Linked DNA regions of Homo sapiens: all the other regions are linked to region 3. Evidence: promoter capture Hi-C in 16 types of primary human blood cells and fetal thymus (Javierre and others, 2016). All regions are on one chromosome and are shown on one strand. Each heading gives the region's core, a stretch centred on a gene start or on the middle of the fragment in contact. The rest is flanking DNA. Distances are from core to core; before and after follow the strand shown.

The links. The method cuts DNA at HindIII sites, captures the fragments that hold promoters and counts their contacts. A CHiCAGO score of 5 or more calls a contact.
Region 1: a contact is called between a fragment that was not itself captured here and the fragment with the promoter of SPAG16 in region 3, in 4 of 17 cell types (non-activated CD4 T cells, total CD4 T cells, naive CD8 T cells and 1 more). The highest score is 9.7, in non-activated CD4 T cells.
Region 2: a contact is called between a fragment that was not itself captured here and the fragment with the promoter of SPAG16 in region 3, in 1 of 17 cell types (naive CD8 T cells). The highest score is 5.4, in naive CD8 T cells.
Region 4: a contact is called between a fragment that was not itself captured here and the fragment with the promoter of SPAG16 in region 3, in 1 of 17 cell types (total CD4 T cells). The highest score is 5.0, in total CD4 T cells.
Region 5: a contact is called between a fragment that was not itself captured here and the fragment with the promoter of SPAG16 in region 3, in 7 of 17 cell types (naive CD8 T cells, non-activated CD4 T cells, total CD8 T cells and 4 more). The highest score is 15.5, in naive CD8 T cells.
Region 6: a contact is called between the fragment with the promoter of RPE here and the fragment with the promoter of SPAG16 in region 3, in 4 of 17 cell types (activated CD4 T cells, fetal thymus, total CD4 T cells and 1 more). The highest score is 7.7, in activated CD4 T cells.
Region 7: a contact is called between a fragment that was not itself captured here and the fragment with the promoter of SPAG16 in region 3, in 1 of 17 cell types (naive CD4 T cells). The highest score is 5.0, in naive CD4 T cells.

What each region holds. Positions count from the first base shown.
Region 1 is chr2:216,489,887-216,493,137 of GRCh38, reverse strand. All of the region lies in intron 1 of RPL37A-DT (RPL37A divergent transcript), which reads left to right. Among named protein-coding and RNA genes, the nearest start is that of RPL37A-DT, 7.2 kb to the left of the region's middle. RefSeq lists an enhancer at 512-571. The HindIII fragment of the contact is 878 bases long and covers 1,367-2,244 here.
Region 2 is chr2:216,423,919-216,427,492 of GRCh38, reverse strand. All of the region lies in intron 6 of SMARCAL1 (SNF2 related chromatin remodeling annealing helicase 1), which reads right to left. Among named protein-coding and RNA genes, the nearest start is that of SMARCAL1-AS1, 13 kb to the right of the region's middle. The HindIII fragment of the contact is 3,251 bases long and covers 517-3,574 here.
Region 3 is chr2:213,282,776-213,286,139 of GRCh38, reverse strand. SPAG16 (sperm associated antigen 16) reads right to left here and starts at 1,676. Exons shown (of 16, transcript NM_024532.5): 1 at 1,521-1,676. The coding sequence starts at 1,656. SPAG16-DT (SPAG16 divergent transcript) reads left to right here and starts at 1,931. Exons shown (of 3, transcript NR_161186.1): 1 at 1,931-2,107. RefSeq lists enhancers at 1,274-1,353, 1,424-1,473, 1,514-1,643. The HindIII fragment of the contact is 3,357 bases long and covers 257-3,364 here.
Region 4 is chr2:216,545,829-216,549,466 of GRCh38, reverse strand. No RefSeq gene overlaps it. Among named protein-coding and RNA genes, the nearest start is that of RPL37A, 49 kb to the right of the region's middle. The HindIII fragment of the contact is 5,361 bases long and covers 1-3,638 here.
Region 5 is chr2:216,505,778-216,509,306 of GRCh38, reverse strand. No RefSeq gene overlaps it. Among named protein-coding and RNA genes, the nearest start is that of RPL37A, 8.7 kb to the right of the region's middle. The HindIII fragment of the contact is 5,377 bases long and covers 1-3,529 here.
Region 6 is chr2:210,000,931-210,004,264 of GRCh38, reverse strand. RPE (ribulose-5-phosphate-3-epimerase) reads right to left here and starts at 1,627. Exons shown (of 6, transcript NM_199229.3): 1 at 1,482-1,627. The coding sequence starts at 1,603. RefSeq lists enhancers at 1,359-1,528, 1,569-1,618. The HindIII fragment of the contact is 5,690 bases long and covers 1-3,334 here.
Region 7 is chr2:216,444,844-216,448,153 of GRCh38, reverse strand. It overlaps SMARCAL1 (SNF2 related chromatin remodeling annealing helicase 1), which reads right to left. Exons shown (of 18, transcript NM_014140.4): 11 at 996-1,136. Among named protein-coding and RNA genes, the nearest start is that of SMARCAL1-AS1, 34 kb to the right of the region's middle. The HindIII fragment of the contact is 4,716 bases long and covers 1-3,310 here.

The DNA.
Region 1 (3,251 bases), core at 556-3,055, 3.2 Mb before region 3:
ATGTGCTGCCTCCCCCACGCCCTCCGCTGCAGAGCCTCCTACGTCTCTGGCCTTCAGGGGGGTCTGAGAGAGAGAGCAAGAGAAGAGGGAATGCATGAGTAGGAATGCAGTAAGCGGCTGAAAATGAGACACTCCATAATAGGAGGAAATTGTTCATGTTCAGAGCAATTTTGTCAAAACTGAACAATTATCTTTAAATAGCAAGCTTGAGGATGTACAAATAGCACTCATGAAATCAGCTCTGAGTGACTTCAGAGAATCGGCCCTCTCCTAAAGTCTCAATTTGTCTTTTCTGTGGGCTCATAAATTTCCATCCCTATTAGAGTACCATCCGGTGTGGAGAATGTTAACTATAATGTGTCCCCATAAAAGACTCAGTAAAAATCACTGCTGGCTCACCTCTGCTCTTAAGGAGCCCTCAACATTCACTCTTTGCCTTTAGAAAAATAAATAAGTTAAAAGTCACCTCCAGAGAGGAGTTCTTGTAGCTGTTAACCAGTTCTCTTGGGGCATATGGAACATTTTATTCTTGAAAGAAATCTGAGGTGCAAGCATCATTCCAAATTCATCTTGTGCTGGAGACAGAAAGGGTTTATTGGGGCGTGGTTCCTTCACTTCATGCCTCAAGAGAGCCTGCTCTCCACAAAGCCCCTGGGGGCCACAGACAAGAGTGGGGCCTGCACAGCATTGTTGAGAGTCCCGTGAGGCCAGAGCCACAGGCAAGAGCTGACCCAGCAGGAAAGGTGAGGCCCTCCAAGGCAGTCCTGGATGCCCCGAAAGAATAAGAGTGTGGGAAATTGACTCAGGCAACCCCTCTTTCCTTTCCTCCTTCTCCCCTCAAATTCCATTTAAACTCGTTCTAGTTATTAATGGACCCGTCACAGAGCATTTACACAGGAAGTGCACACATAAAGACTGGAGTAGTTACTTGGCAACTCTTAAGTGGGATAAGGTATGTTAAAAGGAAAACTTTCAACAAATTAAATTTAACAGAGTTTAATTAAGCAAAGAATGATTTGTGAATTGGACAGCCCCCACAACCAGAAGAGGTCCGGAGCAGCTCCAGGGTTGCCACATGGTTGGTTCACATTTATGGACAGAACAAAGAAAGTAACATACAGAAAAGGGAAGTGAGGACAGAAAGAGCTGGATTGGTTGCATATTTGCCTTATTTGAACACAGTGTGAACGGTTGGCCACCTGTGATTGGCTGACATATGGCTGCGGTAATTGCCTGAGACTTGGCTACTTGTTACAAGAGTGGGTCCCAGTCTGTTTACCAATCTAGTTAGGTTATAGTTCACTCTGCACAGAGAAACCTTTAGGCGGACTTTAAAATATGTAACAAGGCAGCACTGGGTTAAGCTTAATTTAACGAGTAGCAGGAGGCGGAGGTTGCAATGAGCTGAGATCGCACCATTGCACTCAAGCCTGGGCGACAGAGACAGACTCTGTCTCAATAAATAAATAAATAAATAAATAAATCATAATTTAATGGGTAGATCAATATGAAACAATGGCCAAGTACATCATGTGAAGTGAGTCATTTTCAGTATGAAGAATTTGATACAGTTTTTGTAAAAACAGATTCTATGTGTATTTTACATATATTTGTATGCATAGAGATAAATTACAAATGGCTTTATCTCAAATTATTTAGTTATTACTTCTAGGAGGTAGGGCTGAGGGAGGGAGGGAGGAGAATGCAGGACTCTTATTTTTGAGCTTATACTTTTCTAGATGAATTTTTTTTTTTAGACAGAGTCTCTGTCTGTTGCCCAGGTTGGAGTACAGTGTCACGATCTCGGCTCACTGCAACCTCCGCCTCCCGGGTTCAAGCAATTCTCCTGCCTCAGCCTCCTGAGTAGCTGGGATTACAGGCGCCCGTCACCATGCCCAGCTAATTTTTTTGCATGTTTAGTAGAGATGGGTTTTCACCATGTTGGCCAGGCTGGTCTCAAACTCCTGACCTCAGTTCATCTGCCGCCTTGGCCTCCCAAAGTGCTGGGATTACAGGCGTGAGCCACTGCGCCCAGCCTTAGATGTATTTTTACATCCAGTTCATAATATTGGAAAGAAGGCACTGCAGAGCAGTAGGTGGAAGGACCGTCTTTTCCATAAGTGGTGCCGAGCTAACTGCATATTCATATGGAAAAAATTAACCTTGGCCTTACCTCACCCCATATACAAAAATAAACTGCAGGTGGATTGTAGATCTAAACATTAACGGCAAAACACAAAAGCTTCTGCAACATACTATTTTCTTTTTCTTTTTTTCTTTCTTTCTTTCTTTTTTTTTTTTTTGAGACGGAGTCTTGCTCTGTTGCCCAGGCAGTCTCGCCCTGTCGCCCAGGCTAGAGTGCAGTGGCACGATCTCGGCTCACTGCAACCTCTGCCTCCCGGGTTCAAGTGATTCTTCTGCCTCAGCCTCCCAAGTAGCTGGGACTATAGGCATGCACCACCACACCCAGCTAATTTTTGTATTTTTTTTTTTTTTTAGTGGAGATGGGGTTTCACCGTGTTGGTCAGGTTGGTCTCGAACTCCCGACCTCAGGTGATCCACTTGCCTCGGCCTCCCAAAGTGCTGGGATTACAGGCGTGAGCCACCACACCCGGCCTCACAACATACTATTTTCATAACCTTGGGGTCATGGTTACATGGATGTGTATTTTAAAATATTTTGTTAAACTAAATTGTTTTATGAACTGTTCTGTATATTATATTTTGCCCCCAAAAAAAGGAGTTAAAAAAGAGAAAAAGAGCCTCAAAATCTGTTGAATAGGGGGTGGGAGAGAAATGTGTGCAGAGGATCTTGCAAAATCAGATAACTGTTGATTGTCATAATGCCCAAAAGACTGTGACTCACAGGCTTCTTAATGCTTTCTGCTATGGTCAGGAATTCATTTCCTTCACTGAGACTGCACAGGAAAACACAAAACCAAAACAAAACACAGGTAGAAGAGACTTCTCCAATTAACCCTCTTTAAACTTCCGAGCCACTTTTTATGTTGATAATTCTGAACTTGGTGAGAAGTGGGAGGATGGAGTAAATATAAGGTTGGACTTCATTCTCTCCCCTTTGCAAAAAAGAGGATAGAACTTCAAAAAGCGTTGAGGTTCTAACAGACGAGAACGAACAGACAAGACAACACCTCAGAGCCAGTGGTGTGGGGATGACACCTCCTGCTCAATTTCTCAGCTCTCCCACTGATCTAGAAAAAGGCTCCTCTGAAGCCAAGAAGGAAAAAGAC
Region 2 (3,574 bases), core at 893-3,392, 3.1 Mb before region 3:
AGAAACCATTTTCATTTTAATTCTAGTGATCTTCAGAACTCAAATACCTGATGAAAGCTAAGAAAGGGCTGATGAACTGGCTGGTAGAAAAGGCAGGGCTTTGTAAGCGTTATGTTCCTTCGGCCATTTAAGAGGAATAAAACCAACATCTACTCTGTCTCCTACCAACTACTGTCTCCAAAATCCTATGCTGCTAGTTCAGCCATCTCAGTGTTCCTGAGAAAGACACCATTCCCTGACAACGACTGTCTCTACTGTCCTTTCCCTGGTACTAGGAGATGACAGACGTGTTGTCGGCTTCGTGAGTCATCTAGAAGTCATTTCTGTAAAATAGCTCTTTGCCAGAATGCTACTAGCCACATAGCAGAGATGCTAATGTTTTCAAATAGCAGCTAACAAGACAAGATTGTTGAGAACCCTTCTGGACTGACAGCAAGGGGAAAACAAAAGGACTTATGCCAATTTCACTGGGGGCAAAAGGCCTGAGTCACTTAGAAAAGAGAGAGGAGGAAAGCTTAGATTCTCCTTACTAAAGAAAATAACTCCCACTGCTTCACCAATGAGCATTCACGTACTCAGGTCTTATTGTCATTTCTTCATCAGTTTCCTATGCACACGTTCACTAACTCAGGGTCATCGATCTAATTTCACTCATGAGGAAGGACAGCATGGGGTGAGGAAGGAGGTGCGCATTCCCCAGGTTCACAGTACTGGCGGAGAAATCAGAACTAAATTGGAACTGGGCTCTATTCTCACTGCTTCCACTCCCAGCTTCTTAGTTTAGCTGGCTTCTAAATTCCATAATGGGTCATTTTACAAAGGCAGATGGCAATTTTACTCTTATTTCTGTCACTGACTTTACTGTAACCTTGCAATGCTCCCAGTAAGGAAAGCCACTGTTTCCCTTCTCTGGGCCCAACCTTTTCTCAGTCTTATCTTCCGTGAGACACTGTCATGATGAGATAGCAGGTAAAAACTCTAAATCTAGAATCTTCACTCAGGATCTATGGAATCATCTTTATCAAGTGCAAAATCTTATTTGTGGCCATTATGTGCATTTTTTTCTGGGTGAAGAATCCATTCTTTTCATCAGATATTTCAAGGAGTCTGTTGTCTGCAAAAGATCAGGAACCACTCTACAATGCTATGTGAGTCACAAGTCATGGTTTTTCAACACTACATTTATCTACTAATGCTGTAAATGTCCTGCTTTTTGTCATTCCATAAAAGTCAAAGACTTTATAGCTAACATGTGTGTGTTTCCTGGTTGAAAGACAAAAGCGAGAAGGAAAGAACTCACTTCTATTTTTCTTAAAAAATTCAGCTTTTGTGGCTGGGCACGGTGGCTCACGCCTGTAATCCCAGCACTTTGGGAGGCCAAGGTGGGAGGATCACTTGAGGCCAGGAGTTCAAGACCAGCCTGGCCAACATGGCAAAACCCCATCTCTACTAAAAATACAAAAATTAGCCGGCCATGGGGATATGCGCCTATAATTCCAGCTGATAACAGCAGGAGGCAGACAACTTCCTAGGCAGACAGGGGTGGGTCCACAGTGAAACCCAACCTTTAAGCCAAAGACAGACTGAAACCTGAAAACCAGGCTGTCAGTTCCAGGTGGAGTCCACAACCCAGAATAAGAACTTCCTCAATGCCTTTTAGCCAATCGAATGGTGCTTTTTCCAGGCCTGCCTATGGACCAATCAGCACACACACCCCCATTCTGAGCCCATAAAAACCCTGGACTCAGCCACATGTTGGGACTACCCACTTTGGGTCCCCTCTCCACTAAGAGCTGTTCTGTTGCTCAATAAAACCCTTCTCTGCCTTGCTCACTCTCCAGTTGTTCATGTAACCTCATTCTTCTTGGACGCAGGACAAGAATCTGGGACCCGCTGAATGGCAGGTGAGAAAAGGGCTATAACACATTCTTGGTCTGCTCGCCAAGCTGCAGGCAGTGACATGCTCCTGTCTGCCGAACCACAGGAGTGAAGAGTGGCAACCTTTCTGGGAGCCCAGACCTTGGGACTCCCTCGGCCAGAGCTGTAACATGCTGTAACACCCCCTTAGGGCTCCATGGTTGCTGGTGTCTTCAAGTTTTCAGGCACCAGCACATTCCCATCATCCAGCCGCTGGTGCCCAAGGCAGAAGCTGCTTGTGGTATGCCTAGTCCAGCTGCAGCCTCATACAGAGCTGGTGCCTGTGCCACAGTCTGGAGCTGCCCGCTCTGCTGCAGCAGCTGGCGCACCTGGCTATGTGCTGTGGCCAGACTCTACACTCACTTGCTCACAAACCCTCTGCTGCTCCATGCCTAGCTCGCCCTCAGTGGGTGTGGAATCTGGACTGGTAGCGTGAGCCGAGCGCAGCCTGCCAGGTCGAGTGGGCAAAGCAAGCCCAGTGGCAAGCCCAGCTGGCAAAGTGGCACCAAAAGGATTCTGTGTACAGCTACTTGGGAGGCTGAAACAGGACAATCGCTTGAGCCTGGGAGGCAGAGGTTGCAGTGAGCTGAGATCATGCCACTGCACTCCAGCCTGGGTGACAGCGAGACCCTGCCTCAAAAAGAAAAAAAAATTCAGATTTTGCCAAATAATTCCCTCTAAATCACAAGTTCCAAATAGTAGCAGCCAGAGAGTCTCAAGATCACCGTGAGCCATTCTTTCTGCTTCAGCCAGCATTTATTAAGTTACCATCTCATATTCAAACGTAATCATGTAGTTCACAGCAAGTTTTGCTCAAGGAACCAAAGGCTCTTCCTTTATATTTAATTCCTATGTCAGGAGAGCAGATAGAGATTAAAGACCACCGCTTTTTTTACTAAAGGGACAATGGGACCCAGAATGTTTAATTATTTACCCAATGTCACATAGTAAGTCACATAAGAAGGAGACAAAAGGAAGGAACCCAGTTTTTCCCTCACATTGAAGCCCTAGCCTGCCAGGGAAGATGGCCAATGACTCAGAGCTCCCAGGGTTGGCTCGTGTCTGTCCTGGCCTGATTGGTACCCACAAATGACTCCTTCCTTGGTTTGGGAGGCCCAACAGGCCATCAGGATTAGGAGAAAAGCAGAGGAACATAAGCCATGCTAGCTGCAAACCCAATGCAGAATTGTTACAGCCAGATAGATAAGGGACTGGTATTCTGGTACAGTCTGAGATATGACCATATTTCCTTTTTCCAGGCATATTAGAATTTATTGCCCCATCTAAGCAAAACACAGAGAAGAAAAATGATAAACCCAAAATGGCTTCCTCTTCTTGCACTTATGCTATCTGTACACATATCCCTTTTCCTTGGTCAGTCTGTAAAGTGCTTGTTAAAATGCCTAAGTCCCTGGCCTTGACTTCTGCCCCAAACAGAACTCTATTATGAAGTCCATTCCCAGTGATACTCTCCTATCTTTCTTGATCATCCCATCCAGTTCTAGAAGTACACTGAGAGCCTATTCTTAGAAGTAATCTATGGTCACTTCCACCTAAGCTAAGCAATCCTAGCTCACTTCTGATTCCTAAAGTCTATGTACCCATGCTTCTAGCACTTCTATGACAGCAGGAAGATTTCACAGGCCTGGGAAATTTC
Region 3 (3,364 bases), core at 427-2,926:
CAAACTGCTACATCTTGGCAGGTGTGACTCAGTGATCTCCCTGCACATTAAGTAAACCTGATTTTCATTGCTGAAAGTTGTGTTATGTTAGACTCCTACCATTTATTTCACAAAGATGTTTGCAAAAAGTTACCTCATTGTGTCAATCTCATGTTAACAATTAAACTATGTGTTCACGGAAATAATTTTAATGCAAACAAAATTACAAGATGCCTGGTTACCATTCAGTAGCAAGGGCACTGGATATAGATAAGCTTAGGAAGAATTATGAAAATCGTTGTTAAAGAGGAATATCACTGGAAAAGACTGCCTGTTACATCTACGAAAACAGTATAAAACCTCATTTATGACACTAAAGCACCCATATATTTCTTTCAAATTCATTTCAAGCGATTCAAATTTCTATTCCTGTAAAAGTCGTTTTTGCACCCAATAAAATACTACATATTTTCTTTAATCTTTCAGCTAAATTCTTCAAAGCTCTCTGTAGTGTGGATGTGTACTGAGCCTGAGTCAGGACAGGTTAATCGGCTTGTCAAAGCTCACGAAATGAATCATTGCTGGATTTCTGAAATCTTGAATTAAACCTGGAGAGGATTACAGTTGGACAAACAAATAAGATTTGGCAGATTTTGGAGTTTCCTTGGTATCTTTAAGAACTGAACAGATAATCATCTCTTTCTTACCTCCCTGAATAAAGGAGTTACATGTCTTTTTCTCATGAACCCTCCCCGTCTCCCTAGTAGGAATTAATCTATATAACTAGAGGAAAGAAGTTCTAAAGCCTTACACAAGAAATAGTGGACCTAATTATCCACACATTGTTATTCAATTTTTCTGGTACTTCCGATAAAAATCGCTAATCACCATCTGCTTTATTCCTAATATCTCTGAGCTGTGTAGCTCACCAGATCATTATTTATTTGCTCAAGAAAAAAAAGCAACTATACTATTAGTATTTATTATTAAGTAGTCAAACTTGGAACTACTCAGGAAGATAATGCTATCAAAACTAAGCATTTAAGCATTAACTGGACCATCGAACAGGATCGTGGGTTGGGTATTCTGAGCTTCAGCTCCTTAAAGTCCAATGGCAGAGGTCTTTCCCTAGTCTCCTAACGTTCCTCCGTTGAATTTATTGGGACGGCTTTCTGAAAGATTGAGGGCTTATTTAGGAAACCCATTATTTGAAAGGAGGGTTGAAGCAATTTGTTGTGCTGTCTTAACATAAAAAGCAACCCTCCATCCAAAATGTACTGAGTGGTTACTAAGTATGAGGCCTTGGAAGGTCTCCCAACTCTTCTAACAGGTACAGGACACCCTGGGCTACTAAGGGCGAGAAATTCAGTGAGTGGCTCTCAGGAAGACTGTGGTGGCAAAAACAGCACCTTGAAGTCCAACAGAGGCTCCTCCGGAGTGGCCCCAAGGCTCAAAAGGCGCCGCCAGTGGGAGGCCCTCGCCTTCGTCCCAACACCCATTACCCGCCAGCGCAGCGGGCCGCGCCTCCACGGGAAGGATACGTTCCAGGTAGTAGGCGCCCTCAGCCGCCACCGCGTCCGCCGTGTCCCTCGCGTCCCCGGCTGCCGTCAAACCCATGCCCAACGCCTCTTCCAGGACCCTCACGGCGGAGCTGGGCATCCCTCGCTGAGCAGCCATCTCTGGCGCTTCGGGCCCCCACCCCCAGCAGGCCCACAGCCGTCCCTAAGGGCAACAGCGAAGACGCTACCCAACGGCCCCCGGGAGCTCTCGCGAGATTCCGGCATCTCTCACCCCGCCCCACGGACCAGCCCCGGGCACGTAAGGGTTACCGGGAGTCCAGGGAGCTGTCGCCCTCCCGCGCCTCCCAGTTACCGTGGCAACGATGTTGCCTAGTTAACGCGAGAGCTCGGGCGCAGCTCTGGGAGCGGACAAGATACAGTAAACAATTGGCTTGCATTGCACCTTCCTACCCAAGCAGCTTGGTTTTCTTTCGCTTTGACCCTGTAATTTCTTTCCCACTTCGTTGTCGTCTCTGAATTACCTTTCTCTTGATTCTTGCCCATTAGCATCCTCCAATTTCAGATGTTTGTAGATCCCCAAGTGTTCCCAGGGAAAACTACTAGAAAAGGTGAGTTCTCAACACCTGGAATTTTTTAAAAAATGAAAAAATAAAGTTCTAGAAATCATAATAGAAAGACTGACCCAGGGGAGCTACCAGACGCTCCTCAGATGCTTAGCAATGAAGAACTATGGTGTTCAGCTTTGTCAATTCCTTTCTTGTGATCTTTAATGCATTTAGCTGGACATCTGTTTTGAGTTTGGTTCCATATACTAAGACTTGGAATAGTATTTGTAGCATTGATTCTCGCCAAGGTAAAAACAGTTGCATAAAAATTATGAGCTACAAATTTGGTCCTGACAAATGTATGCAGTTGACACTTGCCCCATCATGTATAGTCTTATTGCTGAGAGGATCTTCCTCAGGTTATATCGCGTATGTATCAGAAGCAAATTCAAGGCCCTTTTCTTTGCAAATATTTTTTTTTCCCTTAACTTTTATTTTAGGTTCAGGGGTACAAGTGCAGGTAAGCTCATGTCGCAGGGGTTTGGTATATAACTTATTTCGTCACCCAGGTACTAAGTGTAGTACCCAATAGTTATTTTTTCTGATCTTCTCCCTCCTCCCACTCTCCTCCTCAAGTAGGCCCCAGTGTCTGTTGTTCCTTCTTTGTGTCCATTTGTTCTCATTATTTAGCTCCCACTTACAACTAAGAACATGCAGTATTTGGTTTTCTGTTCCTGCATTAGTTTGCTAAGGATAATGGCCTCCAGCTGCATTCATGTCCCTGAGAGGACATGATCTCATTCTTCTGTGGCTGCATAGTATTCCATGGTATATGTGTACCACATTTTCTTTATCCAGTCCGTTGATGGGCATTTAGGTTGAATCCATGTCTTTATCATGAATATCAATGAACACGCATGTACATGTGTTTTTATGGTAGAACAATTTCTGTTTCTTTGGGTATATACCCAGTAATGGGATTGCTAGGGCAAATGGTATTATTTTTCATTCTACATTTCTTGGTGAAAACTGGAAGCCAGTGATCCTATAAAAGCTCCCATTTATTACCAAAAGGTAGCAGTAACTTCCTAAGGAGGTGTTTGAGAGTACGTGTGTCAGAGCCAGAGAGACAGCTTTCAGAGCCTGCTTCCATCACTTACTAGCTATGACACATTGGGCAAACTACTACTTAATGCCTCTAGGCCCCAGTTTCATCATTTGTAGAACAAAGACAACAATATTACCTACCTCAAAGTGCTGTTGCAAGGGGTAAAGCAACAAAAAGCATTAAGAACTTACTGGGAACATAGAAGACACTAA
Region 4 (3,638 bases), core at 83-2,582, 3.3 Mb before region 3:
TCGTCTCTTCACTTTCTTTAAGGAACTCTTTGATAAATCGTCATAGGTACCATGGATGGGTCCTCCTGCGCATGCATTCTGACTCCAAGGAAGCCCACCCTTCTCTGCTGATGCAGTTCAGCATGGCTTTGGCTGGCAAAGTTGTGTTGGCTTCTGGGCACCAGAATAGCAAGCAGGCCCCGAGGCAGCCAACATCAGGAATCGAGAAAGGGAGTTCCAGATGGAAGCGGCAGAGTGTGAAGATGCTTGACTGCAGGCCAGCCCCATGGCGGGGGGAGAGGTGTGGGGGTTTGGAATGCCCTAAAAGGTTCCAGACCAGTGGCAAAGCTGCTAGAAAAGGCTGAGCCCAGACCCAAAGGAAAGCCTTGTGTCCAACCCCTATGTTAAGATATGGGGAATTACAGAACCCCCAGGACTGAAATCACCCTCCCTCTAAGAACATCATGTCCACTGTTCAGCCGTCTGCCAAGATTACCAAAGCAGAATTGTTTTTAACAGAGATGGTAATCCACCACAACTCCTGTGGGTCATTCATTCAGACCCCCTGCCTTCCACTGCCTTCTATGCAATGTTAAGAAGGGAAAGAAGTCCAACTTCACATTTTTCTGGACAATTTGAAGAAACAAACACAGAGGAAATGGTTTACATCAATGAAATGGATAAAAGCTGGAGAACAGAAAGAACTTCTCAGGAGTATGAGAAAGTGTGAGAGAACAATCACAGTCTGAACAGTGAGTCTCGGTATTCTTTTGTGAAAGAGCCAACTACACTAGGCCTCAGTTTCCCCACCTATAAAATGGAAAGACCATTCGCTGCTTTGCCTTACTTGACATTGAAAAGAGTAAAGCCCATTTGAGATGTTAAAGGCCTTGGCATGTTGAAAGGAAGTGTCTGCAGGGATCTATGAACTGAGAGGTTATCCAGCCATGGAGATGGGAAAATGAGGACTGTTCACCCTAGAACATCTTCCAGGGGGACCTAATGAGTAATGGGGCCAGAGTCATTTGTAATGTGCCACCGGACTGTGCTCATCCTCTTGGCTGCCAACACTCCTGCTTTCAGATGATAGCCCACTTTTTTCCATCAAAGGAACCACGACTTGACTACTCCCAAGGCTTGGTGATCCCAAGCATTCCAAGACCACCTGCTACAAGCCTCCATCAGAGCTATCAAGCAGCAACTGCAGACTCCTCCTGGAGGCAGGAAACAGTCACAGGCCCAAAGGGAGGTGAAGAGAGATCACTGAGGTGCTAGCTTAAAGCCTGGGAAGTGTGAAGCACCATCTCAACATGTAGGTTTCAACTGCAGTCTCAGTGAGCCCTGGAATCCCACTGGGGTGTCTTGGTCAGAGATTGGAGGAGGCCAGAACTGGTTCCGCATCTCCCACCCCTGCCTCAACCACAGCATCTCTGATGTTATTGGTCTTAAATATTGGGATGTTTTGTTTGCAAAAAGAGTTCTATGACTCTAAAAATGTTTATGAAACACTTGTCTGCACTAGTAAATTTTATTTTTAAAAAAAAGCATACAGAAGAAAAACTAATTGCACTTAAGACTTTAGAATCATATATCACATCCAACAGAAGAATTCTACTAGGAAAAATGCCCAAGCTGTTGCCCCCAAACTAACGTAACATGCTCATAAATGGCATCTGCCTTTATATTCTTGCTATTTCTTTATTTAGCTTTCCCCATTCTCTCAATTCCTAAGTACTAGAACAGGTAGAGATGCTGCTATTTAGGAAAATATTCCCTGAGTATCCTCCTCTAGGCCACTGCAGACCCTTCTCGCAGCTCTGTTTTGTGCATCTTCCATACTTAACACTTAGTACTGCAGGTAGATCTAGACTATGAACACCTTGAGGACAGGGATCATGTCTAATTCCATCAATCTATGTGGCCCATGTTTAAGCACAGTGCCAGTAACTCAGGAGGAGTTTGAGAGACCTGAATGAATGAATGAATGAATGCATGAATGAAGACACTTCTGCACAAATGTATAATTTCCTGGTTTCTCTTCTGTAAGTAAGTTAACATCTTCTATGTTTTGTTTTGTTTTTTCTTCTAGGTCACAGAGGGCTAATGCTGTAAATTCTCTCTCAGGGGAAAGCTGGGCAGACACACTTGGGAACATTTAAAAAACTAGGTTGGCATTGGAGAGGAAACAGCCAATATATTTAGCCACCCATGGCATGCCAAGGCCTTATCGAGACAGAAATAGGCACTGTAGGAGGAATCTCAATTAAATATTTTTCTAAGCAGTCAGCTCTGGGCTTTGCCTGAACATGGATAGAGAGCTGGGGTGAAGCACAGGACAGAAAGCCAAGAAGATCTCAGTGGGGCTTCTGAATCATCCTGGGGCTTAACTGCTAGCAATGTAAAACTGGTGACCCCAGGGGGCAGGGGTGCTGGCCTACCTTCCATGTCCAAGGAGCAGGACAACCTCCCTGCAGGCACTTTCCAGAATCCCACACATTTGGGGGACCCATCCTCTCCGCCATACCTACTCTTAAGTGGCAGCAAGTATCCGGAATATTCTTCCTATGAGCTTTACCCAACTGTTTCCAATAGTCAACACTCCCTAAGAATCGGTCTTATCCAGAAAGTACTCCTGGAATGACTTGAGGAGAAACACAATGACGCTTTGGGCATAGAATTCCACCCTGCAGCCTAGTTATCTTTTCTTTGTTAAAATATGCAGCACTTCAATCCAGAGACATAGGGACAACTGCCCTGAATTGACTGGGGTATGAGGATGGGCTCCAGTGCTGGGCAGGGTGAGAGTGGGAGGGGGTACCTGGCGGGGGTGCAGACAGTCCGGTGCAGAATGCACGTATGAATAATAACAAATCTCTCTTTTTTTTCATATGTGGGCTTTTCCAAATATGGAAAACAGCTTTTCCCACTTAAAAATGTATCATCAACTTTTTCCCATGTCATTGCATGTTCTTTTACAATGTGATTGTTAACATCTATATAGCATGCCCTCATTTGGAAGTCATTTTATTTAGCCCATCTCCAGCTGTTAAGCATTTAGATTGTTTCCTGTTATTATCACACTATGATGAACACGCTCAGGGTGACCGTTGTGTTAATTTCTAATCATTTCAAGAAGCAGGCTAGCTGGGGGTTAAGAACAAGGGTCTTGCAGCTGTTCTTCCCAATCTCAATCCCAGTGTCATAACTTGTTCCTTGTTAGACCTTGCTCACATGACTTGGTCTCCACATGCCTCATTTTCTTCATAGTAAAAAGTATCTATTAATACTTACTTTATAGGGTTGTCTTAGGGATTAAATATGTTAATAAATATAAGTGCTTAAAACAATGCCACTTTTAACGCTGTGTATGGTTGAGAAAGTACTCAGTAAACTTTAATTATGATATCTTTGGATTATATTCCTTGAATAATTTCTGGGTCAGCAAATTTGCATATTTTAAGGCCTTTGAAACATATTGCCCAACTGGATTAGGCCAATTTACATTCCCGTAAGCAATCTATAAACACATCGGGTTGTTCACAGTCTTCTAAACCTCTTCTTTTAAAATACCCAAAACATTTACCGTAAGCAACCTGGACTTCTCTGTAGTGGTAGGATTTAGCACTATTGATCCCTTTTTCTTGAAATTCTCGACTCCC
Region 5 (3,529 bases), core at 637-3,136, 3.2 Mb before region 3:
TGAACAAGTCACTAAACATTTACCAGGTAACAGGCAAAATGAGGAGAGACAGTAGTTTACATTCTTGTGACCATAAAATTGAAATGAGCCAAGACAAAAGTTGGAATATGACACAGATGGCTCAACATACCCCTTTCAGTAGTACCAGCAATTGTGCTTCCTCTGAATGCCTAAGACATTATAATAAAAGTTTTACAAATACTTAAAAATAAGTAGGCTGGGGGCAGTGGCTCATGCCTGTAATCTCAGTACTTTAGGAGGCCAAGGTAGGTGTATCACTTGAGCCCAGGAGTTCAAGATCAGCCTGGGCAACCTGGCAAGACCCCATCCCTACAAAAAATACAAAAAAATTAGCTGGGCATGGTGGCACCTGCCTATAGTCTCAGTTACTCAGGAGGCTGAGGTGGGAGGATCGCTCGAGCCTAGGAGGCAGAGGTTGCTGTGAGCCCAGATCATGCCGCTGCACTCCAACCTGGGTGAGTGAGAGCCCATCTAAATTAATCACCAAAAAAGTAAATTGTAATAGGATATGGGGACCACAAAATGGTCAGACCTTTTCAGGACATTTAAAATCTCCTTTCTAGTACTGTCATTTATTAAATCATAAAATAACAGAGGACCCATTTTATCCCAGACTCTATTATGGGGAGTAGATTGCAAAAATGGCCATAATTCTGTATCTACATGCTTTGTAATTTGTAGCTTGTTGCATCAAGAAATAGAGTATATCTTCTTACTCCTTAAATCTGGATTCGCCTTGAGACTGACTTCTTTGTACTATACTGCACAAGTAATGATGTGTGAGCTTCAATTACCCTGCCACTGCCCTGTGAGCCAACCCAGGATAGCTGCTGACAGACACATGACCCAGGCACACTTACTGCTCCAAATGCCACCCATCAGCCAAATATGAGTGAGGCCATGCTAGACCAATCAGTTCCCCACTGACCTAACAGCTGACCACAGATGCAAGAGCAAGCCAAGCCCAGAATGACCCAGATTATCAGAATGACTTTTGAGTAATATTAATGCTTATTATTTTCAGTTCTTGAGTTCTGAGGTGGTTTGGATTTAGCAGTAGCTAATACAAGAGGACATAAAGAACTAAACCTAGTCCCTACCCACAAGGACTGCACAATGACAACCTATTGAAGTTTAAAATCTTCAACAGATCAACCTCTGATCTTAATAGAATGTAGAGTCCTAACAGAGGGCAGGCTTGACATTTTTCACATGTCTCTCTGGTGCCATCCTCCTCTCTTCTCTATCTTGATCTCTGCTCCAGGAGGCTGACCTCTATGTACTATGTGAATGGGTTCTTTTGCCTACTGGTTGGGCTTGGTCACTGGAGAACAGTAGCAGATAAGGAGAATGAGGCTGGGATATTCATCCCCTTGGGTCACTCTCTGCATGGCCGTATTTCATTGGTTGAATCACTCTAAGGTCACCCTTTCCACCGGACTTTCCTTAACAATTTCCAGTAACTACTCACTCTCCTCCCTTTCAGGCCACTCTACTATCTCCTATGGTTTTTCCAACATCCTGCACACACTTTTGTAAATGTCTTTATAAATACCTTGTATTTTTGTAATTTGAATGTGTCATCTGTTCCCTGCTACGACACTGACTGATATATTACCCAACCAGGAAAATAGCTGGGGAGTCTGGGAGTTCGGGTATGCCAAAAATAATATCATAAAAAGAAACTTTAGTTGTTGATATGGTTTGGATCTGTGTCCCCACTCAAATCTGATGTTCAATTGAAATCTCCAATGTTGGAGGTTGGGCCTGGTGGAAGGTAAATGGATCATGGGGACAGTTTCTCATGGTTTAGCACCACCCCACTAGTGCTGTTCTTGTGGCAGTTCTCACAAGATCTGGTTGTTTTTAGTGTGTGGTACCCCCTCCTACCCACTCCCCCGTCCCTACTCTTCCCCCTGCTCTAGGCTCCAGCCATGTGAATTCCTGCTCTGGCTTTGCCTACCACAGTAAAAGCTCCCTGAGGCCTCCCCAGCCATGATCCTGTGTAGTCTGTGGAACTGTAAGCAATTAAATCTCTTTATAAATTATCCAGTCTCAGGTATTTCTTTATAGCAATTCAAGAATGGACCAATACGGTTGTGTATAAAAGTATTGGCTGGCTGTGGTGGCTCATGCCTGTAATCTTAACACCCTGTGAGGCCACTCGCTTTATGTCAGGCGTTCGAGACCAGCCTGGCCAAGATGGTGAAACCCAGTCTCTGCACAAAACTTAGCTGGGCGTGGTGCCACATGCTTGTAATCCCAGCTACTCAGGAGGCTGAGGAGGATCACTTGAACCCAGGAGGCAGAGGTTATAACGAGCTAAGATCACACCACTGCACTCCAGCCTGGGCAAGAGTGAGACTCCATCTCAAAAAAAAAAAAAAAAAAAAAAAAAGTGTTTCCCTTTTACTTGCATGCCCCAAACTTCAGCTTACTCTGGTCTAGTGGGTGTAGACAATAAACCATGTAGCTGTAGATCCATGTGGTCAGTCTCCTACTTTTTTCACTGATTATTGCCTGGAAGGAACCATGAGGCACAGAGGTAGAAACTCGCTCTTCTAATGCTCTTGTAAATGGGCCTAAGATGGAAGTGATGTTGGCATCTTGCTGCTTACAGCATTCTCCCAGTCACTGCAGGTCCCAACCTTCTGTATCTGGAAAGACTGGGTGCAGCCAACTCAATGGGAAAGCAGAACAGAGAAGCTACAGGAACCAGCTCTCAGCCACCAGGAATTAAACCTGTCCTCAGTTCTTGTGGTTTCCGTTTTTTCAGAATGGCTTTTTCTATCTCCAGTCAATGCCCTCTAAGCAAATGACACCATCCTTTTCCCATAGTGCTTGGAACAATCCTTTTATGGTTCCTGTGCAAATGCAGCCAATACATCTCATTTTCTCTACAGCCTGAAGTAAGCCAGAGACTAAGTAATCAAAAATTACACTAAAATACTTAAGAGAAGCCCCTGAGAAAATAGGGTATTATTTGATCCTTAGCACAAATGTGCTACAATTTAACCCATGACAAACAGGCCCATACAACAATTTCCCATAGACAATATAAACAGGAAAGGCAGATCCTATGGAAAAGAGGAAAATAAGCCTTCCTCTTACAAGGAATATCCTAAGATTCCAAAGAGATTTGAACCTCAAAAGTGTTTCATATTCTGGGCACGGTGGCTCATGCCAGTAATCTCAGTACTATGGGAGGCTGTGGCAGGTGGATTGCTTGAGCTCAGGAGTCTGAGACCAGCATGGGTAACATGGTGAAACCATGTCTCTATGAAAAATACAAAAGGTAGCCAAGCGAGGTGGTGCACACCTGTAGTCCCAGCTACTGGGGAGGATGAGGTGGGAGGACGGCTTGAGCCTGGGAGGCAGAGGTTGCAGTGAGCTGAGACCACACCACTGCACTCTAGCCTGGACGACAGAGCCAGACCCTAACTCAAAAAATAAAAATAAAAAATAAAACAAATCAGGTGTGTATGCACATACACACACACAAAATGAC
Region 6 (3,334 bases), core at 378-2,877, 3.3 Mb after region 3:
AACAATTACTTTCCCCAACCATTAACTTACTCAAACATAGTTTAATTAAAACCAAATTGCTCAAATAGACTCACAAATATACACATAGCTGTTCCATCCTGTGACCCTCTAGGTATTTTCTCAGGCACAAAAATGTAGCTACTTACCTTTGAGGTAGACACTCAGGGTATTATTACCTGTGACAGTTTAGGGCTTTCAAGCAAAGATGTCAAAAATAAAGTATATAAGTATAATTACATATAATGGCCAATTAAAAGCCAACCTTTGTGAGAGGTAATATTTACTAAACTTTTTACACATTTGGCCTATTATTTTTAGTACTCTATGGTCAAAGTTTTGTCATTATCAGTTGGGTGGACTCCTAAGGTAACTGGGTAAAATGCCAAAGAGAAACAATACATTTAACCACATAGAGCAATGGAAGATAAAACTCTTCAAAGCCAGATTAACATTAAAAAGAAAAGGAAATCATCACCTTTAGAAAATAACACCAATTTGCAAACTGAATGAGGGAACACAGGGTTTTTACCTATTTAAAATAAATTTATTTTTCCATCCCCACTCAAGATAATGGTATTTATGATTTTTATAGTCAGTTAACAGTGGGGCTCAGAGAACTACTTGGCAAACCTAGGAAGAGCCAAGTTGCAAGTCTGTCACAATCTTCTGTAATCTTGAGGGAGTCTTACTGCTTTCTCTGGGGTTGTTTCCTCATTCTGTAACCAACTTCAGAAACTAATATCCTGACTCCAAACAATATTATGTGCTGTAACTACGGTGCTTAAAAATTACTTACAAAAAACTGACCTCCCTGAAGAGCAGGGTGCCTGAAGAGAAAATAGACAGGAAAATCAGAATTGTAATAATGATGTAATTAACAATTATAGAGAACTTAATATACGCCAGGCACTGTAAACTTCTCATGTACTCGCTCATTTCATCTTCCAAGATGCCTAAGCGGTAGGTTCTGTTAGTAGTTCCATTTTTCAAATTATGAAACTGAAGCTCAATGAGGTTAGTGGCTTGTCCAAGGTAACCCAGCAAGTGGCAGAACTCGGGAACCTAACCGCAGGTGCCAACTTAAATCGTTAGAGAAGTCTGTTTCCCCAGCTTTGCCACTAACTAGCTATATGAGCTTGGGCAAGTCATGCTTCTCCCCTTGGGCCTCAGTTTCTCTAGCTGAAAGTGAAGAAATGTCCTAAAGATTTAGGTCGCTTCCGGGTCCTAAGTGATGGAAGACCACACGTTACGTGGGGGGAGGGGAGGAACTGAGGTTTGGGACCCGGCCGCAACCCAGGATACCGCGTCGGTTCTGCTCCTGCTAGAGCCTCCAGGGCTCCTACCCCACACCCCTTCTAGCATCGCGTTCAGAGTGAGGCGCTCGGTGGTACAGGGACGCGGTACATCCAACAAGCAGTCAATAAAGGTGCACTGATCCGCCCCGCCGCGCGGCAAGCCCGACCGGAGCCCGGAGGAGTTACCCGTCCATTACGTCCAGGTGCAGATAATCGGCCCCAGAGTCTAGCATCCGGAGGCACTCGGCCCCTAAATTGGCCAGGTCGCTGTTGAGGATGGACGGGCCAATCTTGCAGCCCGACGCCATACCGCTGGCTCCCAAAAGCAAGTTACCCACGAGTCCCCGGCAAGGCTAGAGCGTCACCCCGATTGGGCGCGCAGTTTTGGCCCCGCCCCTTCTCCGTACAGGCTTCCGGATTCTACCGGAAGCAGCCACTCTGCGGTGAGGAAGTCCCGCCTCCTCCTGGGGTGGGGCGCTGTCAGCCGTCCGCCTGGGGCGGGGCGGGGCACACGGGCCTCGTACACCTGATTTTGACCTTCCTTCTTGTGCTGTTTGGATCTTAACGTCCTCGCAGTACTCAAGGCGTTTCTTAACCTTTTTTCACTTTGCTTCTCCTGCAGTTCCCTCTCCTCGGCTCTTGACTTAACATCACTTTTTGTTTCTCCACCCTTTGCATATGCCTTTCTTTCCTCTCCAGCGCCTATGCTGGCCCTTTAAAACAACAATTAAAAACCTTTCTTCCTCGTATTTCTCCTAGAGCTCTTCTTTTGAGCTGGAGGAACCCTGGCTCTGCCAGATACTAGCTGGGTGACCTGGCAAATCACTTCTTAACTTCGGTTTTCTCATCTGTAAAGACAGTGCCCAGCTTTAGGGTTGTATTAAATGAGTGAAGCCAGGTAATGCGCCCAGCAGGATGCCTGGTGCTCAGTACAAAATGGTAGTTATTATTATATTACCCTCTTTTTCTGCCTTTGCAGTTCCTCCTTACCTTTTTTGTTTTTCCCTCTGTTGAGGCTCAGAAAATGATAGCCCAAAGTGAAGGCCTCAGACGCAACAGTGTTTCTCTGACTTCCTGCCCTGCTCTCTTCTCAGTCTCATTCTAGGAGGCAGGTCATAGAAACTGGAGCCCATCTTCCCTAAGAAGAGTCATTGAAACCGGAACCCCCTTTCCCTGAAGCCAGACACAAAACCCAAAAGCATTACTCTAACTTTCCTCCACCTTTCTGTGTAAAAACTGGCCATAAATTATTTGACCCATCTCAACTGTAGGTTATAAAACTCCTCTTCTAGAGAAGGTTCTATCCCATATCCAGGAGGAGGGAATGCTGCACAGAGAGGCCAGGAATCTAAACTAGACTGGCCAAGGCCAGGTCAGTCTATTAGCATTAGATCGCCTATTTTGTCCAATCGTATTTCTACATGGCTGTCTATACTTTGTTGAACCTAAGTATAAAAATGGGTAATCACCCCTGTACCTTTGGGTCTTCATTCTGAAGGCTCCTGTGTCAGGTAAAACTATAATCAAATAAGTTTTTATGCCTTTTCTCCTGTTAATCTTCTTTCTGTCAGTGATTTTCAGCAAACCTTTGGAGGGTGAAGGGAAAGTTTTCCCTTGGCCCCTACACCTCTCCAATGCTCATTCACAAATTGTGATAGGTTTGTGTGCTGTTCACACACAGTTCAGAAATGGATGAGTATCCTGATGCTAAATGTGCCTAGGGTCAGGAAAAGAGACAGAAGTAAAACCACTTGGCGGGGATAAATGGACTTAGCAAGAGCAATCCTTAAGGGGTCAGAATAGAGCACTTGTACTCTGTGTAAAAGACGGAAGTGGTAACTTGGACTGAGAGGTGACAGCGTGCTGGCAGCCCTCGCTCACTCTCGGTGCCTTCTTGGCCTTGGCACCCACTCTGGCCGCGCTTGAGGAGCCTTTCAGCCCACCGCTGCACTGTGGGAGTCCGTCTGGGCTGGCCAAGGCCGGAGCTGGCTCCCTCAGCTTGTGGGGAGGTATGCAGGGAGAGGCACAGGCGGGAACTG
Region 7 (3,310 bases), core at 622-3,121, 3.2 Mb before region 3:
TAACCAGCTAAAAATGGTTTGCAATTAACTATGCTAAGGACTACAATTTCCATTATAAGTACTTCGTTTGAATGTAAGTGGATATTTTTAAAGTACTTGAAAACTTTTTTTCTTCTTTTAAAAATTTAAAAAATAAGGCAGACACTCTTATTTATATCATGTACTTGCACAGCAAGGCTTTTCCCTCATAGATGGCTTGTAGGGTAAGTTGCAGCTATTTCTCCAAAGTGCCAGTACCTTTGTGACTTGATCACAAAACAAGAATCCCTAAGGTCTGAATTAATGTGGTTTTAAAAACAAGGGTTCCATGGCAATGCATTGGTGTTTACAGGGCTTCCCTGCCATTTTGGGAGAGCATTTCTGGAGTGCCGACTGTAGGTCCTGAGGTGCCTGCGCCATTGGCACTGCACTCACAGAGCCCACCCAAGGCAGTTTGGGATCAGGCTCCTCAATCTACCTTTATCTTTTTTTTTCTTTTTTTTTTGCACAGGGAGGAATTTCCCACCTTTACTTCATATTCCTCCCATGCCAGGAGGAAGCCCTTACCCCCTCACCTACTTCTTCCCTCTGCCTGGGGCCTCAGCCTCACTCCTAGCTCACCTCAGTGCCAGCATCTTCTCTAGGGCCAGCACTTGACAAGGACTTTCCTTTTATAGCTCCAGCACTGTGCCTCATGCAGAGCTGTGACCCTGGGCAAGAGGGAAGCCGGCTCTCAGAGCTCCACATACCTACACATCAGCCACTAGTCCCCTTACTGGAAAACGATGACTTCGGATAACCATAACCATTAAAACTAGATTTAAAGGGTAAGATGACCATTTTCATCTTACCCCTGAGGTCATTCCAAGGCCATAGTAAGAAACAGAAAGACTAAAATCCATTCCCCTGGCCAGTGCTCTTCTGACCATATCATGGCCAGAGAGAAGGAAGAGAAAGATAAGTGTCAAAATCAGGGTGAGAAATGGGTGGGCTGGGAGGGAAGAGATAATACATACCCGTTTGGCATCACAGTAGCGAAGTCCAAAGGCATGAAACTGGGGGAAGAAAGTTGGCTTGACTGCGATGATCTGCGTGTAGAGCTCTGCGGGCCGGGACATGGCTGGTGTGCCCGACAACAGGATCACCCTCTTGGCAACCTAAAAGACAAACAGCCAAAGGTGCTCTGAACACAGGGAGGAGCACACAGGAAATGTTCAAAATGCCCCAGTGAGGGAGGAGCTGGATGCCCCCAGAAAAAGACCGCGTGCGTGTCGCGAGAACCTAATGGCATTGCCAATGCAAGCAGTTAGATGGCATCTCCTTTTCTTTAAATCCTCCCTGCCTGCCCTCTGCTGAGCTCTATCCTAGTACTTAACATATTACATTGAATTATAACTTTTCTGTCTCCCTTGTTAGACTGCAAGCCTCTTGAGATCAAGGACTGGGCTGTATTCACCTTTATTTTCTGTAGCATATGCCTGACGCCAAGTAACCAATAAATGTTCACCGTATGCTGCAAAAAATTCACAAGGAAGCTAATTAGTATCCTGGAGAACACAGAGTAAACTCAAAGAATCCAGCATTGGACAGGAAGTGGGAGAAGACAGTGGCAGGTCTGAACTTCCTCCAGAGTGGATCTGTGACATGCAAGTTGAACTCAGATAATGACAATTACAATCAGCCCTCTCCCATTCCCAAGAGGAAGTGTCAGGGGTTGCCAATGTATATGTCTCCATGTGACTTTCTTTAAAGGAAAATAAGGCCTTTACTAACTCAGCTTCACAATGCTTCAAGCCTACAGATCCTGACTCAGGCTCATTTTGCAGTTATTAACAATAAGAACCTTAATAGGTGATACCTGGTTCCATTTTCCCTAAACTCAGCCCAGATGTGCAGCAGCCTGCTTAGCATGGGCAAGATGGGAAAAAATAGTTGGTCAACAGCAATGACAGATTCCAAGTTCCTCACTACCCAGACACCAACCTGACCCATGGGCATCAGACCCAAAGATCCCACCTCCTATTATTAAGATGGGAAAGAGGGTGAGAAAAAAAAAAAGAGACTCTTCCTACTGTATTAGAACACAGAATCACTACAAATTACTGGACGTAAAATTCACTTCAGCTCTGGGAACGGACCCTACCATGGAGCTCAGTTGTCTAGAAACAGCTTGTTAACCACTGTAACCTTGAGTTAATGACAGTAATACAAGGCAATTGCATGTAATAAATCACCTAGGAGAATAAATTAGGTTTACAGATGGATACACTGCCTCATAAAAATAAATAAATAAAGGTGCAACAGTGAAAAGAAAAATCATTCTTTATAAATATACAATATACACAATTATCTAAACGCATTTGTGCCCTCACAGCAATCGCCAATATCTAATTCCATTATGATGGGAGAGCTATGAATGTCTCCAGCTATAATTTTCCACAGTTCAATTACCTAGGCCTTCTAACTTCCTGCACGGTTTAATGCAGACTCATTAAAATAACAATGAGCTGACGTTGGTAGCATCGCTTGCCTTGGCTTTAAGATCATTTCAATGAAAAAGGGGAAAATGAAAAGTTTTATCAAAAAGAGAAAATCTCCCCATCACCCCAAACCTATTCTTCATGTCACTGTGCTGGCCTGGGGATGGAGCCAGGGCAAAAACAGTTCATGAATCAGATGATGGAAATTAACTCCAGGGTCTTCTGTCAGATACTTATAGGATGTAGTTAGTATTAAATCGCTTCTCCCATACACTCCCTAGACTAGAGAGTGATGGGAGCGTTGCCAATGGGTGTTTGTGGGCATCAAAAAGGCAGAGGCAGCATTACAAAAAAAGAAAAAGTCCAGCTTTGAAAAAGAAACCAGAATGGCATCTCGTCTGTAATGGGGTGATTTGGCCTGCTCCCAGCTCAGCCCCAACATGTGTGTATGTCATCACGATCACCCACAAGGGCTTTTAACACATGCCCAGCTGCAAAGGTGTCATATGTCACCCTCCACTTCTGAAAACTTCCAAATCTAGGAAAACAGAAATCTATAAAACTACATAAATCAACACCAAATTGAACAGTTTACAGTGAACTCCCCCACCTAAGGGAGAAAAGCAACACCCAAGAAATCGAAGATAGAACAATGTAAAAAAATACTTTCTGTGTGGTGTTAGAAAGATAACATGATTCACATGTGCAGACACTGTTGGGATCAGATGACCCTCAAAGATAGGCTTAGTTTCTTCGTGGGTTGGGGGTGGGAAAACCCTGCAGAATAGGCTGAGTTCGTGTATACATAATTCGCCACAGAGAATTCAATGTCGTAATTGAAAGTGGATAAT